Linked DNA regions of Homo sapiens: region 1 is linked to region 2. The links are contacts of gene promoters, found by promoter capture Hi-C in human tissues and cell types (Jung and others, 2019). All regions are on one chromosome and are shown on one strand. The core of a region is centred on a gene start or on the middle of the fragment in contact, and the rest is flanking DNA. Distances in the headings are between cores, read along the strand shown. Region 1 overlaps ILKAP (ILK associated serine/threonine phosphatase). Region 2 holds the start of KLHL30 (kelch like family member 30).

Evidence for each region. Contacts are between HindIII fragments. The study calls those that stand out against the background at their distance.
Region 1: a fragment that was not itself captured here is called in contact with the fragment with the promoter of KLHL30 in region 2 in 1 of the 25 tissues and cell types used here (psoas muscle).

The regions. Positions count from the first base shown.
Region 1 is chr2:238,191,083-238,194,419 of GRCh38, forward strand. It overlaps ILKAP (ILK associated serine/threonine phosphatase), which reads right to left. Exons shown (of 12, transcript NM_030768.3): 3 at 3,193-3,249. Among named protein-coding and RNA genes, the nearest start is that of ILKAP, 11 kb to the right of the region's middle. The HindIII fragment of the contact is 3,908 bases long and covers 1-3,337 here.
Region 2 is chr2:238,137,163-238,140,312 of GRCh38, forward strand. KLHL30 (kelch like family member 30) reads left to right here and starts at 1,506. Exons shown (of 8, transcript NM_198582.4): 1 at 1,506-1,596. The HindIII fragment of the contact is 32,785 bases long and covers 1-3,150 here.

The DNA.
Region 1 (3,337 bases), core at 580-3,079, 54 kb after region 2:
CAGCTGGGACTGAAAGCAGGAACCACTACACCCGGCTAATTTTTTAATTTTTTTGGTAAACACAAGGTGTCTTTTTTTTTTTTTTGAGACGGAGTCTACTCTGTCGCCCAGGCTCGAGTGCAGTGACGCAACGTCAGCTCACTACAACCTCCACCTCCAGGGTTCAAGCAATTCTCCTGTCTCAGCCTACAGGAGTGCACCATCACACCCAGCTAATTTTTGTATTTTTGTATTTTTAGTAGAGACGGAGTTTCACCATGTTGGGTAGGTTGGTCTTGAACCGCCTGTGTCAGACATTTCTTAGTGCTGAGGAAAAAGTAATGAAAATGTTCCTGCCCTCAAGAAGCGTAAATTAGTTGCACAAGGCCCTATTTCTGCAACAGTATAACATAATACACATATGCACCCTGCATAAGGCAACACAGATGTTTCCAACAGTATCTCTCCCAAAGGTCCCCATTAGTGTCCTGTGGCTTACTGTATGGGTTCCAGTTTTCCCCATATGGATGTGAAACTTTCTTCCTTTAAAATTCCAAAACAGATGGCCAGGTGTGGTGGTTCACACCTGTCATCCCAGCACTTTGGGAGGCTGAGATGGGCAGATCATCTAAGGTCAGAAGGTCAAGACAAGCCTGACCAACATGGCGAAACCCGGTCTCTAATTAAAATACAAAAAATTAGCCGGGCATGGTAGCGCCTGTAATCCCAGCTACTCGGGAGGCTGAGGCACGAGACTCACTGGAACCCAGGAGGCGGAGGCTGCAGTGAGCTGAGATCTCGCCACTGCGCTCCAGCCTAGGCAACAGAGCAAGGCTCCATCTCAAAAAAAAAAAAAAGAAAAAGAAAAAGGCCAGGCGCAGCGGCTCATGCCTGTAATCCCAGCACTTTGGGAGGCAGAGGCAGGCGGATCATGAGGTCAAGAGATTGAGACCATCCTGGCCAACATGGTGAAACCCCGTCTCTACTGAAAATACAAAAAATTAGCTGGGTGTGGTGGCAGGTGCCTATAGTCCCAGCTACTCGGGAGGCTTAGACAGGAACTTGAACCCGGGAAGTAGAGGTTGCAGTGAGCTGAGATCGCAACACTGCACTCCAGCCTGCCAACAGAGTGAGACTGTCTTAAAAAAAAAAAAAGAAAAAGAAAAAGAAAAAAAGAAAAATAATAAAATTTCAAAATAAAGACACCTTACAGGTTTGTTATTGACTTCTAAGCAAATTACACTGTAGTCTGAGAATGTAGTCTGTACAAGAAACAGATCATTGAGGCTTATTTTATGGCTTAGTACATAATCAACTTTTGTAAATGGTTCCTGCCCGCTTAAGAATGTGTTATCGGGCCGGGCAAGGTCGCTCACACCTGTCATCCCAGCACTTTGGGAGGCCGAGGCAGGCGGATCACGAAGTCAGGAGATGGAAACCATCCTGGCTAACATGGTGAAACCCCATCTCTACTAAAAATACAAAAAAATTAGGTGGGCGTGGTGGCGGGAGCCTGTAGTCCCAGCTACTTGGGAGGCTGAGGCAGCAGAATGGCATGAACCTGGGAGGCAGAGCTTGCACTGAGCTGAGATCGCGCCACTGCACTCCAGCCTGGGCAACAGAGAGAGAGACAGTCTCAAAAAAGGAAAAAAAAAAAAAGAATGTGTTATCGGCTGGGTGCAGTGGCTCACGCCTGTAATCTCAGCACTTTGGGAGGCTGAGGCGGACAGATCACAAGGTCAGGAGTTCGAGACCAGCCTGGCCAATATGGGAAAACCCTGTCTCTACTAAAAATACAAAAATTAGCCAGGCATGGTGGCACACGCCTGTAGTCCCAACTACTCAGGAGGCTGAGGCAGGAGAATCGCTTAAACCCGGGAGGTGGAGGTAGCAGTGAGCCAAGATTGTGCCACTGCACTCCAGCCTGGGTGAGAGTGTGAGACTCCGTCTCAAGAAAAAAAAAATGTGTTAACTTCTCTAGAAATCTAAAACACTAGACCCAAGATTATATATCCAAAAAATTAAGCTTGTTAATAGTGTTATGTAAATCTTCTAAATTTTTTACTACTTTGCCTTTTGTCCTGTAGATAAATAAGAGACAGCTATGCTGTATCTTCATTTCTTCTATTAAATCCCTTAACAGCCTTCTTTGAACATATTAACTTTCCTTTTTTTTGGAGACAGAGTCTTTCTCTGTCACCCAGGCTGGAGTGCAATGGCGTGATCTCAGCTCACTGCAACCTCTGCCTCCTGGGTTCAAGCGACTCTCCTGCCTCTGCCTCCTGAGTAGCTGGGACGACAGGCACATGCCACCATGCCTGGCTAATTTTTGTATTTTTAGTAGAGACAGGGTTTCGCCATGTTGGCCAGGCTGGTCTTGAACTCCTGACCTCAAGTGATCTACCCGCCTTGGCTTCCCAAAGTGCTGGGATTATAGGCGTGAGCCACCACGCCCAGCCAGAACATATTAACTTTCATTACAACTAAGGGTACTATCTTTATTGGGAAGGTTTCAGGCCACACTGTGAGTGTGAGGATGCTGCAATTTTTTGGTATGGGTCTACAGCCCTGAAGATTGAGAATTCTTATATAAGATGACTGGAGTACTTTTCCTAAAATATAGAAAATATACCTGCATACGAAATGGGATTACCTGCATTCCCCACTGCCCCCACACCATCTATCTCCCAACCTCTCCTAACCCTCACCTTCCCCAACCAGAGGAGCTCTACCTAAGAAGTTCTCATGAGACAGAATCATACCTTTGCCGCAATGGCAACAGGAATCTGCTCTATTCTTCCCTTCTACTTAATTAGGACATGAAAAGGAACATTTTCAGGAGGAGGTAGAGCCAATGCTACTAGCCTCGATACATTTGAGTCAAGCACTCTGTTTAACAAGGCAAATCGGAATAATGAACTCTGAATTTTTAAAAAATGTTAATAACAAAGTTAAGAGTAAATTAGTGAACTCTTAATTCTTAAAGGCAGTTCCAACAATCTGAACCTCAAGAAGTTAATATCACCAGAAAGTGATACAGTATTATCTTTGTGCTTCCAATTAATGTGCCTGTTTATAGTTTTAGTAAACCTTATGCTGTATTATGACTTAATGTCATCCAAAATCCCGTTAAAACCTATACATAAATTTCACATAAGAGTAAAATACTATGTATTATTTCCATCAGCACCTTGGATTTTTCCTACCACTTACCTGAATCGCCACTGCTAGCGGGTGGGAGATCATCAAAAAGCAAAGGTCCCCCTGATCCTGAAACACAGCAGAACACTTAGTGAGCCCACAAAAAATATGTAAGACTTAAGTTTCAGAATCCATCCCACCAGGACACCTATGTAGG
Region 2 (3,150 bases), core at 256-2,755:
GGCTGGGGAAAAACCCTGGGACAGTGTGGGACACGAGCAGGGGAAAGAGCAGGAGCAGGGGCCAGGCTGGGCTGGGCTACGGCTGGGCTACGGCTGGACTATGGCTGAGCTGGGCTGGGCTATGGCTGGGCTATGGCTGGGCAATAGCTGAGCTGGACTGGGCTATGGCTGGGCTATGGTTGGGCAATAGCTGAGCTGGACTGGGCTATGGCTGGGCTATGGTTGGGCAATAGCTGAGCTGGGCTGGGCTATGGCTGGGCTATGGTTGGGCAATAGCTGAGCTGGGCTGAGCTATGGCTGGGCTATGGCTGGGCCAGGCTGGGCTGTAGAGGAAGCATGGACTCAGGGAATCTCTATGGAAGGTAACCCTAAGGGCACCTTGCAGACTTGGCAGTAATTTGTAGGTGAGCTTCCCCTCCATAGGCTGTGTGCATCTCAGGACCAGGAGTGGGGTTCTGTCTCCCTGGGGGCCGCCTGGACCTCTCTGGTCTGTAAGAGCATTAGGACAATCCCTAGTAGCATCAAGAGGCCACAGCCAGACCCAATACTCCCCAGTTCCTCCAGGTCGCAGCACACCTGGAAATGGTCATACTGCTCAGGCCCACATGGCCGATGGGTAGAGGGCTGAGGGCTGAGGGCTTCTCTCCCATGCACCTGAAGTCCCTCAGCCACAAAGCTCTGCTCTGGTCACTGGTGTGAGAAATGTCCAGTGGCCTCTTGGGTCCCCAACTCAACCCACCTGACCTTGGTCAGGGCCTGTGGTTCTGAGCCCATTTCAGTCCCAGGCGTGAGAGCTTCCCCCTGCGACTACCGTGAACCAAGTGCTGGACGGGAGGCTGATAGTCCACTGCTGTATTTTTAGGTGACCCTGTTTCTTAGCCGTCCTGGGCAGCCCCGAGGCCAAGGCCATGGGGTAGCAGGGCAAGGAGCCCCAAGATCTCCCCTATCCACGCTAGCTGGGCGGGGCAACTGAGTGTGGCACCTCCCCTCTCTGGGCAAAGTTTCCCTACCGCCACCATGGACCCCAAGCTCGGAAAGCCTCTGCTGACCAACCTGTGCTTATTCATGATAATCACGTTTTCCCACGTGACAACAGAACAAGAGGACACATAGGTGCCGCTGACATCAACAGCGAGGGCAGCACCTGTCGGTGTCCTGGCCCTGGGCTGAGGGTCTCTGTGACCCCAGGCCCCCACCACGGGCTCCACTGTACTCAACTTGTAGACGAGGAAACAGGTGGGGAAGCTGCATCCCTGCCCCCACCAGCCAGCCCAACCGCGACAGCTTTCACCTGTCCTTGCCCTGGAGCCCTTCCTGATGTCTGTCCTAGGCCACAAGTCCCTGGAAGGCCTCAGTGGGCTTTCTGAGCTAACAGTCACCAAGGAGCCGGCATCTCACTCCTTCCCCCACCAGCCCAGCCCTCACTGCCTGACCCTCCCCTCGCCCTGCAGACAGAGGCTAAAAATACCCTCCCCACGTGGCCACCAGACCAGCCCTGCCCCGCCCTGCAGGCCTCCGTGTCCCCTGGCTGCCGGCTAGGCAGTCCTGCTCTCTCGGGTCTGTGTTCTCAGCTTCGAGGTCCAGGCTGAGTGAGAGGTAGGATCCAGGGGGCTCTGGGGCAGGGGACAGCAGAGAGGGCAGGGGGAACCCAGCCAGGAGCAGCGGGGAGGGTGGGTTAGGCCCCCGAGGCCAGGGATCACAGCAGGGTGCTTTGGAGACGCCCCCTGGCCCTTGCCAGCGGCCAAGCCAGGCTCCTCAGGGTGGGGGCTCAGGAGACAGGTTTCCCTCCATGTCCCAGCCGGAGAGGTGGGAGGGGGAGGCTGGGCCACCCCTCAGATGGCAGCCAGGGCCACTCAGCCACAGTCGCCAGCCTGGCTGGGCTCAGGCCTTTTGTTGTCCTGCCCACTCGGCTTCCTCACTCCGGGCCTGGGCAGGCACTGGGGTGAGGCTCTGAGACCCTCAGGAAGCCCCGACCCATGCAGGGACTGCAGGGTGACAGGTGTCAGCAGGCACCCCGAGGCCCCCAGGGGAAGTGGGGGCGCTCATGCGTGCCTGCCCATCGCCCGGCAGCAGCTGGCCCAAGGGAGCACAACAATGACGGGAATGTGAGGCCTGCAGGCGGTGGCCCAGGGACAGCCCTGTCACCTACTCAGGCCCCAGCTCATCTCCCGGCTGCCCAGGGAGGGCAGAGCCGCCTTCACCGGGGCCAGCGCCTCCTGGGGAGGGGCCAGGCAGGAACCCCATGCATGCAGTGTTGGGTGGGTACTTCGTGTACCGGCCGGGATGCTGGGGTGTGGGGCCCCGGCCACGTGAGCTGCCCTGTGCGCGAGCCCGGGTTGGTCCGCGAGGCCCTGTGGGCTCCCAGGTGCTTCCCCGCTCTGGGGTCAAGAGGTGGCACCGGGGTCGGGAAGTCGGGGAGCCCTAGCTCCCATCGCCTGCACCTGTACCTGCACCGTGGCTGCCCGGGCCAGATTCTTGGCCTCCTGGTTCTCCAGCTGAGCTTTGTCATTTCCATGCGTGGCGTTCCCACGCATTTTGTACCTGTGGACGCGCGGCCGCCTCTCCTGCCCGGGATGGCCCCGCGAGGCGCCCCCTAGCGGGCGAACGGCCTCTCCGCTGCGCAGCCTTTCGCCCTGGGGTGACCCGGGTCGAAGGCTTGTGCACAGACTTGATCTCTCCTAGGGATGGTTGTCTTAGGGTGCGATACCAGAAGGACATAAACCACATGCACATAATTACATGAGCCTGAAAGCGGCCTTGCTGACTTCAACCATGCGGGCGTGGTGACGCGAAACCCTCCAGAACGCTGCCTTTGGCTGGCCGTTTCTGTTTAGCAGCCTCCACCCGGCCACGTGGAATGCAGGGTTCAGAGCCTGGGCCCCCAAGCCTAGCTCTGAGTTCAAATTCCAGCTCCACCACTTCCTAAATGTGTGATCTTGGGCAAGTGACTGAAACCTTCTGTGCCTCAGTCTCCCCAGCTGTAAAAGAGGCAATGATTGCACCCACCCTCCAGGACTGTTGTGGGGCTGAGTGGTGAATGCACAGCTTCTCTGCATGCTTGGCACGTGGCCTGGCACCTGGGAGCACCGCGGGAGCAGGAGCTGCTGCAGCCCCCAAATGGCCTCCCCAGCAATGTGGGATCTGGGACGG